Linked DNA regions of Homo sapiens: region 1 is linked to region 2. The links are contacts of gene promoters, found by promoter capture Hi-C in blood cells and fetal thymus (Javierre and others, 2016). All regions are on one chromosome and are shown on one strand. Each heading gives the region's core, a stretch centred on a gene start or on the middle of the fragment in contact. The rest is flanking DNA. Distances are from core to core; before and after follow the strand shown. Region 1 has its middle 6.5 kb from the start of LCE3E. Region 2 holds the start of KPLCE (KPRP N-terminal and LCE C-terminal like protein).

Region 1 (5,753 bases), core at 2,654-5,153, 150 kb after region 2:
TGTCATGGGGATTTGTTGTACAGATTATTTTGTCACCCAGGTATTAAGCCTAGTACCCATTAGTCATTTTCCCTGGTCCTCTCACTCCTTCTATTCCCCACCCTCTGGTACGTCCCTGTGTCTGTTGTCCTCTCTATGTGTCCATGTGTTCTCATTATTTACCTGCCACTTACAAATGACAACATGCAGTGTTTGGTTTTCTTTTCTTGTCTTACTTTGCTAAAGATAATGGCCTCCAGCTCCATTTATGTTCCTGCAAAGGACATGATCTCACTCTTTTTTATGGCTGCATAGTATTCTATGGTATACCTGTATCACATTTTCTTTATCCAGTCTCTCTTTGATGAGCATTTAGGTTGATTCCATGTTTTTGCTATTGTGAGTAGTGCTGCAATAAACATATGTGTGCATGTGTCTTTACGAGAGAACGATTTATATTATTTTGGGTATATACCCAGTAACGGATTGCTGTGTTGAATGGTATTTTGGTCCTTAGGTCTTTTAGGAATAGCCACACTGTCTCCAACAGCAGTTGAACTAATTTACACTCACGTCAACAATGTATAAGCATTCCTTTTCCTCTGCAACCTTACAACACCTGCTATTTTTTGACTTTTTAATGACAGCCATTCTGACTGGTTTGAGATGATACCTTACTGCGGTTTTGATATGAATTTCTCTAATGATCAGTGGGATGTTGGGCTTTTTAAAAATATGCTTATTGACTGCATGCACCTCTTCTTTTGAAAAGTGTCTGTTCATGTCCTTTGCTTGCTTTTTAATTGGGTTGTTTGTTTGTTTTTTTTCTTGTAGATTTGCTTAAGTTCCTTATAGATGCTGGATATTATTAGATTTTTGTCAGATGCATAGTTTGCAAAGATTTTCTCCCATCCTGTAGGTTGTCTGTTTACTGTATTGATAGTTTATTTTGCTGTGCAGAAGCTCTTTAGTTTAATTAGATCCCATTTGTCATTTTTGCAATTGATTTTGGTGTCTTTGTCATAAAATCTTTGTCCATTTCTATGTCTGGAATGGTATTGCCTCAGTCGTCTTCCAGGGTTTTTATAATTTTGGGTTTTACATTTAAGTCTTTGATCCATCTTAAGTTGATTTTTGTATATGGTGTAAGGAAGGAGTCTAGTTTCAATCTTCTGCATATGGCTGACCAGTTATCCTAGCACCATGTATTGACTAGGAGTCTTTTCTCCATTGCTTGTTTTTGTCAGCTTTGTTGAATACCAGATGGTTGTAGGTGTGTGGCCTTATTTTTTGGCTTTCTATTCTGAACCACTGGTGTATTTGTCTGAAAAAAATACATATTGTTAATTACCTGTGTGATATAAAAGATTTGTCTTATTCTTGAGTATGCTTATATTTCAGAAGAAAATGCGTCTTTATTGTTATAATAAAATGCAATAGGAAAATTCTACAGAGCTGATTCAAATGCAGTTTTTACAGGCATTAGTCACACATCAATTGCATTACATCAGGTATACATAATAACACTACAAAATGTATCTATAATTATTCACCTTCAATTAATTATAATTACCTTTCAGATAAATTCTCCCTGAATATCCCAGCCTGGGTGAATCACCTTCTTCTCTGACCCATGTCTGCAACTCAGAAACTTACAAAGTGAGTGGCTTACTGACACATCGTTCATCAGATGTAGGTTAGTTTCTTATCTCCATCTCTGGTTGCAGCTCTAACATCCGTGGTCCACTGTGCTTTCATTCCATTGTAGTTTTTTCTCTCTTCAAACACCTTTACCTTATGACAACTATCACCTGAAGAAATAAGAAAACAAAGCCTGAAATATCTGACTCCCCAACCTATGTTCTTAATGAACCTATTATTCTGGCCGCTTCTATCCACCACATTCTGTCCTCAGACAGGAATTTTGTCCATCCCCCTTCTCTCTGCAGGGACACCTCTGCCTCCTAGGTTTCATGAGTTTCTCTGTGTCTCTCTGACCATAAACTGCAAGGGGAGGTCAGACTCCTTATCCCTTTGTTCCTGCTCCATGCCCATCATCAGCTCCTATAGGCTGCTGACCTCACCTCAACTACTCTCAAGTGATACCAAATGACAACCTCTGGGCACACTGAGGAGACAGGAGACTGATAGCCAAAAGCTCTTGCATAAGCCTCAGGACTCAACACATGTTTTATGTAGCTTTCATCATCTTGGGTCATAGTCATTTGATCACCTGTCTGTCTGCCCTGCTACAAGGTGAGCTACTCAACCAGAACCACATCTCATTTATTTATAATTAGGTGTGTCCACCATCCAATGGATTGCACATCTATCACCATGCCCACTGTGTAATATCTGTTCATTTTTTAGAGAATAGAAGAAAGTAAAGAAGGAATGTAAAGAGAGGGGGAGAGCAAAAGAGGATGGGAGAAAGAGAAGAAAACACACCAAAAACAAACTTAAGAAATAGGTACCCGGACAGTCTTGGGGCATCCCAGATCCTTCTCTTAGAAAAACTTACTCTTTCCTCCCCCACACCTCCCGCCCCCCCGCCTACTACCAGGACCCTGCAGCCTATAAGCAAGCAACATAGAACCTGGTAACAAGATCCTGTCCAGAGAGTCTATGAACTAGAACTTCCTGAGACATCTGCCTCTTTCCTCAAGGTGTTCAGACAGACACTCCCTGAGCACCAAGCTTCAGTCACTAAGGTGCCCCCCAGCTCAGGCCCAGGGAGAAGCCTCAGACCCCTTGGTGTGACAAAGACAGGTAAAGAAGTAGAAGAGGATAGTAGAAGTTGAGACTAGAGAAATCAGCCAGTTCCTGACCAGCCAGAGACTAGTACTGTAGCCAAAGAATTTTTTGTTTGTTTTGTGGACAATAGGTACGTATGCACGTAAGCCCACAGGTGATCTCATTCTCCAACCTCCAATTCTTTCTCTTCCACCTCATGTGATCTGATCCTCTCAAACCTGACTGTGCATCAGAATCACCTGGGAGATACTAAAACCCTGATGCCTAGCCCAAGCCAACCAGCGTCTTGAGGGATGAAACTCAGAGTTTTGTATTTTTAAAAAACCCTCCAAGATGATGCCAATGTGCAGCCAAAGCTGAGAACTTCTGAGGTAGAGGATTCTCTTCTCTCCAGAAATTCCACCCTCCCTGATCTCCTGGCATCCATCTTCTCCCTACCTCCCCGACCCCCATCTCCTCTTTCTATATGTGACTTTCTGAAATAACAAAACTTTCTTCAACTTTATCTGCCTTCCCTACACCACTCTTAGCAACTCAAAGCCCCCTGGATGATTGGAGGTCTGACCCATTCCTCAGCACTCCAGGCCCACCATGACCTGTACTGAAAATTGGAGCCCAGCTCAAGAGTAAAGAAAGATCATGTCACAGACCACCCAAGATAGCTCACAGAAACTGAAGGTTTTGAGGGTGACATGGAGTTTGGAGACAAAACTTTTCATTGTTGACATCTGAAGTCTTTCACATTTTTCACCACAAAGCCCTGATTTTACAGTGATAATTAGCTCCAAGAAGGAATGTTTTCCTAAATGCAGTTTAAAAAATATTATGCAATTTATGAAATTGAGTATTGATTTATTTATTGACTGATATTGGAAAGAGAGGAAGAACCAAGAGAGATCCTTGGCAGGAAAATCTTCCAAGGGCCTCTGAAGTTTATTAAGTAGTCTGAACTCAGTGTCAGATACAAATAGTGACTTATTTTTCCTCTAGTCTCTGTCTTCTACTATGTTATACTGACTCTACTTTGATAATATCTCAAGTGTGTTTCAGGCCTTTCTAATCATTTTTCAGGTATTCAGGAAGCATCCTATCCTGTCCAGTTGGATATAACTCAGAATAAGAATATTAACTCCTCCCTCTCCAACCCAGCACAGCCCAACTGTCTCCTAAAGGACTGTGTGGAAAACAGGCATCTAGTGTGTGGAAAAGAGACATGGTTAGTTCCATCATTTATTGTCCACCTCCTCCTCTCCCCTGCGGGTTCCCTTTATTCTGCACTGTTTTGAGGCCGGAATGAGAAAAGGGGGGACAAAGCAAATATCTCATATTTGGCTGGTACTGCTAGTGTCTCTCAGTGGCTGCATCCTCTCTGTGCTGACCCATGAGGGCTCTCTTACCAGATAAATGACTGATTTCTTTAAGGAACCTTTAGCACAGTGACCTGATGTGAAAAATTTGGCCTCTTTTGACACTCCCCTGCACTCTTAGCCCCATTGGTACAGGCCTCTTGCCTTGATAGCCACATTCCCAGCAGGACTGTGGCAGTACAGCTATGCCTAGCTGCCCTCCAAACTGTCCACTGGCTCAGGGAAACTCATGAACTCTGGCCATGTCAAGCAGTAAGGGACTGGCTGCTTCTCTTTTCCCCATTCTCCTTTCCATTTTCCCTTTCCAATTATTTTTCACTCTCCAGAATAGCCAGAGAACTGTTCAGCAAGTCCAATGATGACACTGAGACCTGAAATTTTAGTCTTCCTGGGTTTTGCGTGTGTGTGTGTGTGTGTGTGTGTGTTTTATTGTTTTGTTTTGTTTTGTTTTGAGATGGAATCTTGCTCTGCCGCCCAGGCTGGAGTGCAGTGGCACAATCTCAGCTCACTGCAAACTCCGTCTCCCTGGTTCAAGCGATTCTCCTGCCTCAGCCTCCTGGGTAGTTGGGATTACAGGCACCAGCCAACACACCCAGCTATTTTTGTATTTTTAGTATAGATGGGGTTTCACCACGTTGGCAAGGCTGGTCTTGAACTCCTGACCTCAAGTGATCCACCCACCTTCACCTCCCAAAGTGTTGAGATTACAAGCATGAGCCACCGCTACTGGCCAAGTCTTTCTGTTTTTTAGGCATTGATAAGTTCTACAATTTGTCCCCTTGAAATTTCTATGACTTTTCCTCTAGTGGAGGGTAAGAGTAATAACCTGTTGCTTCCCCATGTGAAATGTAAGGGGAAAATCCACAGCATTCTATCCAGTTTTGAAAACTTCTCATTACTATAACAAGAGAAGAGTGATAGCATCTCAGGGCTCCTTCCAACCTCTTTATAAGGTGGAGAGTTATTTGTGCCTATTGTTTACAAGTTGGCAGTTATTTTTGTCAAATCTCAATAAAACAGGAAAAGCTTAATCTTACTTTCTCATATATGACCTGGATATTATATGGAAGCATCTCTGTGGTGATGAGAAGAGCTGTATATCTCAAAATAATAATGCTTATTGGATGTGAAGTTTGTGACCCAGATGAAAAACTAGGGACTCATGTTTTCACTTAAGAAGACAAGGTTGGGAATGATTGAGCAAGGATCTCCAAAAATCTGCTCTTCCATTAAAAACACCTTGAAAATGAAAAATTGTGAAAATCAACTTTTGCAAAACTCTGGAGATTTACCAAAGGCTTGCAAAAATATTAGAGTGTTCACTTAAGAAAAGCAGTTGAATATGGGTAAGAGCAGTGAGCTTTGTGACATTTTAACTTGCCCTATTATCATCTCCCTGTTCCCAGTGCCATAATAGTCTTGAAATCTAAAATGCTAGTAGCACATGGAGGTAACAGAACATATCTGAAACTATCCAAAAACCCCATCCCTAGAGAAATGTCATTATCTGACTATATGGCACATAATGAAGATCCCATTCCCATTTCCCCTAGAAATCCCAACTAGCCAAGCTTGTTTTCATTCCAGTTGACTCAGAACTCTCTCACTGAAAACAGCTTTTACCCCAGGGTGTTTGCCAAAAACAATCAGTAA
Region 2 (5,188 bases), core at 49-2,548:
GGTCCATGAGCAGATACAATTTCACAATCTCTCCAACACCCAGGAAGATGAGGGTCTCATCATGGTCAACCCTGCTCTGAGGCTCATCAAAGGGCAGCACAGAAACAGCCCCAACCCTCAAATCTCCATTTTCAGATGCTTCTAACTTGCGTGGGAAAGTTTATTCACAGCATTCTAGAAGGCATGGGGCTCCCAGGCTGGGATTTCACCAGCTCAGTCTGCTTGTTCATGTTCGTGCAGATCTTTCCTCTAGCTGAGAAACAAGAGTAAGAAGAGAGGGATGCAGAAGAGTGCCTGATAGAAAAGCATAAATATGGACCAAACAAACAGACAGAAATTACCACGAAATGCATTCAGAGCTTTATTCATGCCAAAGTTTGGGGACTGTACTAACTCTGGCAGGCTGCCTTGGTAGAGAAGCAAAGCACAGAGGCAAAGTGATGAGGTTCTACATCACTGGCACTAACAGAGAGGGGGCCAGAAGCTGGTGCATGTTCCAGAAGGGGTAGCGGGGCAGTGCATTCTGGAGTTGAGCTGTCGTATGTTTAGCAGCAGCAGTCATCCTCATGGTCACAGCATGCAGGACCTCGGGACCTCATGGGGATAATTCCCAAACAGCAGCACCCAGAGCTGCCACATCCACAGCTGCAGCCACAGCCCCCAGAACCACAGCATCCAGAGCTTCCCGAATTCTCACAGCAGCCAGATGATCCTGTGTTGCAGTTCTGGGGCCGCTGAATCCAGCGTCTCAGGGGACTCACCCCGAAGGTCCGGGGAGCCAGACAGCAGTAGCTGGTGGAACAGGGAGCAGAGCATGGGTCAGTGACACAGTACTGGGAGGTTGAGCCACTTGCAGGAGCTTGAACATAATAGCTCTGGCAAGGAGAAGCACCCTGGACATAGCACGTCTGGGTCTGGCAGGGAGCTGGACTTTTGATGTAGGTCATCTGGCAGGGAGCTGGGCACTTCACGTAGGTTTGGCAGGGAGTTGGGCATTTTACATAGGTTGTCTGGCAGGGAGCTGGGCACTTCACATAGGTTTGGCAGGGTGTTGGGTATTTCACATAGGTCCTCTGGCAGGGAGCTGGGCACTTCACGTAGGTTTGAGTCTGGCATGGAACTTGGTACTTCACATAAGTTTGAGTAGGGCATGGAGCAGGGCCTGTCACACAGACAGTTTGGGTCTGGCATGGAACTGGGCATTTCACAGAGGCACCATTGCTACCCTGCCCAGCCCCTAGTCCCGAACCTTTCACACAAGATGGAGGGAACTGTGGCTGCTTCTGCTGGTCACACATTGTTCTGTGGCTTTGCAAAATCTGAAAAGAAAGGTTTCATTAGAACTGTAAAACCAGGAAGGTTTCTAGGGGAAACCTTCAACATCCCCTTTGAATACAGTGATTTGCAAGCAAGGCTTTCTTGAGAAGGTTGCAGACATCCAGAGGCTGTATACTTGGCAGGAGGTGGATTCAGAGCCAGGGACTCTCAGCTCAGCTTCTGTGCCTGTACCTGGCTATGTGGCTTGGTACAAGTCATCGCTTACCTCTGGGCCTCAGTCTCTATATTGGGAAATGGAGGCTTGAAATGGTGCTGCCTGTGTTTCTACCCAACTCTCCAAGCCTCCTCTCCTCTTTCTTCAGTGTCTGCATTGTGAATTACCCTTTGGAAATTGCTGCTCCCAGATGATTGACCCCTGCCACCAGTTCTCTCCAGGGTGACTTCCCTTCTTCCTTCTGCCCAGACAAGGAATACCCAGCAAAGACAAATTTATGTCCATGGACCCTGAGCCAACATGAGCCTCAAGCTGTGCCCGGTACTGAGCAAAGAACAAGGCTAAATTTGAGCAGGTTTCTACCAGGTGCTCCTTGAACCAGCTGGACTAATCAGTTGGCCTCATTAGCACATAGACCCAAGAGAGGACTGCACAATTGCATTCAGATAAGGGGATGGGGAGCCAGTTCTCTAAAGTCCCTTCTTAAACAGGAATGCCAGCTCATCGTGTCCCCCTCCCTCTCCTCTCATGCCCCAGGCTCCAAGTTTCCCACCAGCATTGCTTTCAGCCTCCTTCAGCAGATTTCCTAAGCATCTAGTCCTCGCTCACCCTTCATCCCACAGCTCTCATCCCACCCCAGCTTCCCCAAAGCTCTGTTTCTCACCATGTCCTTATCCCGTATAGAGACTTACCCTCTTTGCTGATAGGAGCAAGACTGGAAGAAGTCAGTGATCTGAAAAACTAGCAGGTGGGGAGACCTTTTATAGGGCAGCAATGAGGCAATTTAATGGCATCTAAATGAAGCACCAGAGATCACAAGGAGAAGGGATGGTGTTGCATTGGCAAGATTCCTCCCCAGTATGCCTGGCTCCTCAGTCAGAGGCAGGGCATGTCTGTGCTTGACATTGGGTTTTCCCAAACACTAGATAAATGATTCCTGTTCCCTTCCTCAGGAAACAAGTCAGTCTCCTTTTCCTATAAGTTATGAGTGATGCCTATGTGATCTGTCTCTAATGAAGCTGTTTCCAGGTCACTTGAGTCTTCAGGACTTATCCAAGTTATAGTTAGATTCTCAATTTTTCATACACTGTGCCAAAAGCTAAGTGTAGCTCAGAGAATCAAACTAAAATTGAGAATCTAATCTAAAGCTAAGTGTAGCTTTTGGCACAGTGTATGAAAAATTGAGAATTTAACTATAGATTCACCTCACTTCACTCAGCCTAAATGAGTGTTCTGTGGGCTTCCAAGGTAACTTCTGCTGGTCTAGGTTGCTGAGCACAGTTTGGCCCAGTGGTCTCTGGCCCAATATGACACAAGACCTCCAAAAAATGGTTTGTTTCATGGAACATCAGGTTATTCTAGGTTCATTTGGAAACTGGGTGGGTGCTTAATGATCCTAGGCCCCAGGCTGGAGTCTAGACTGCCTCCCCTCAGCCTTCTCATGCCCCTTAGGCTCCCCCATTCTTACCTTTCAGGACCTCACTACCAGGCTTCAATTCCAAAGAACGCTGAGCAGGGAAAATTCCAGCCAGATGAGCACTGTGTGATAACAACAACAACAATAATAATAGAATCTAAAGTTTATTTGAATACTTTATATATAACAATTCATGAGGCAGTACATTTACAAATGGACACAACTGAGGCCCTGAAAGTTTAAGGGAGTTACCCTCATCACAAAGCAGGTAAGTAAGGAAGCTAGGCCTCAGATGCAGGAGTCTGCTTTCATAGATCATGATCTTTATTACTACAATATGTTGCCTTTTATTTCTGAACATGGCATTGTCCTTGAATCCCTGCCTGTTTTCTTTTCCACAATGCAGAAGATGTAGAAAGAGAGGTGGGAATATTATCTACTGAGCACTTACTATGTGGTGGATACTGTCCTAGGCTCTTTGCCTGTGTTATTTCATTTGATTTTGAAATAACTCTATGAGACAGGCTTCATTAGCCCCAATTTTACACAAGAGAAAACTGAGACCCAGAGGTCCACTTTTCCAAGGTCATCCCATCAGTAGGTAATGGAGTGACATTGCAACCCAAGCCTATCCAGCTCCAGAGCCCATGCTACCCCCACTGAGCTATATTGGGTCGCCCACTGAAGAAAGTTGTCTTGAGCCTAAGCCTAGCACTGGTCCAAATGTCAATTCCTTAGATAAACCAGTGCAGGCTCCACCGTGGCCCCTACGGCCTCTCAGGTAAATTGTTCTACTGTATTTGTACATAATAGATCCCCACATTTCCCAGGACCCATAAGCTTTAAGGCTTCTACATTTCCTAAACAAAGAGGATGCAAAGACCCACTAATTCACAGCCCCTCTCCCATGTCAAGCCAGGTCCTGCGAAGTCTTCCCCTGAATACTTTAAATATCTCCCCAACCCCACCTACCAGCCACCCCAATCTCTCGTAACCAGCACTCTGCTCTCTATTTCCATGAGATCAACATTTCTAGATTCCACATATAAATTAGATCATGCAGTATGTCTATCTATGCCTGGCTTATTTTGCTTAGCATAATATCTTCCCGGTTCATTCACCTTCTCACAAATGACAGGATTTCCTTCTTTTTGTGACTGAATAGTATTCTTTGTGTATATATAGCATTTTTAAACATCCATTTATCCTTTGATTTACACTTAGGTTGATTCCTTTTATTGCCTATTGTGAATAGTGCTGCAATAAATGTGGGAATGCAGATATCTCTTCAATATTACTGACTTCAATATCTTTGGATATATACCTACTAGTGTGATTGATGGATTATATGCCAGTTCTATTTTTAATTTTTGAAGACCCTCCATACTGTTTTCCACATGGTTGTACTAAATTGCATTCCCACCAATGGTGTGTTAGATTTTATTTTCTCCACATCCTTGGCAACATGTTATCTTTTATCTTCCTAATTTCACTTAACATAATGACCTCCAGTTCCATCCATGTTGCTGGAAATGACAGGATTTCATTCCTTTTTATGGCTGGATAGTATTCCATTCTGTGTTCATACTCCATTTTCTTTATTCATTTATTCACTGATGGACACTTAGGTTGATTCTGTGTCTTTGCTATTTATTGTAAATAGCACTGCAATAAACATGGGAATACAGTTATCCCTTTGATATACTAATTTTCTTTCATTTGGACAAATACCTAGTAGTTAGATTGCTGGATAATGTGATAGTTCCATTTGCAGTTTCTTGAGACACCTCTATACTGTTTCTCATAATGGCTGCACTAACTTACATTCTCGCCAATGGTGTATAAGTTCCCTTTTCTCTACATCTTTGTCATTATTTTCATTTGTTTGTTTTTTGATAATAGCCATTATTACAGGAGTGAGGTGTTATTTCATTGTGGTTTTGATTTGCATTTCCCTGGTGATTAGTGATATTGAGCATTTTTTTCTAGACATGTTGGCCATTTGTACGTCTTCTTTTGAGAAATGTATATTCAGATTCTCTGCCCATTTTTAATTGGGATATTTGTGTTCTTTCTATTGGGTTGTTTGAGTTCCTTATATATTTTGGATATTAACTCCTTATCAGATGTATAGTTTGCAAATGTTTTCTGATTTTGTAGGTTGTCTCTTTACTCTGTTGCTTATTTCCTTTTCTGTACAGAAGCATTTTAACTTGATTTAATCTTATTTGTCAGTTTCTGCTTTTGTTGTCTATGTTTTTGAGGTCATATTCAAAAAA

The links. The method cuts DNA at HindIII sites, captures the fragments that hold promoters and counts their contacts. A CHiCAGO score of 5 or more calls a contact.
Region 1: a contact is called between a fragment that was not itself captured here and the fragment with the promoter of KPLCE in region 2, in 1 of 17 cell types (total CD4 T cells). The highest score is 5.0, in total CD4 T cells.

What each region holds. Positions count from the first base shown.
Region 1 is chr1:152,570,363-152,576,115 of GRCh38, reverse strand. No RefSeq gene overlaps it. Among named protein-coding and RNA genes, the nearest start is that of LCE3E, 6.5 kb to the right of the region's middle. The HindIII fragment of the contact is 2,450 bases long and covers 2,679-5,128 here.
Region 2 is chr1:152,715,632-152,720,819 of GRCh38, reverse strand. KPLCE (KPRP N-terminal and LCE C-terminal like protein) reads right to left here and starts at 1,298. Exons shown (of 1, transcript NM_001024679.3): 1 at 350-1,298. The coding sequence starts at 1,298. The coding sequence ends at 546. The HindIII fragment of the contact is 5,275 bases long and covers 1-3,751 here.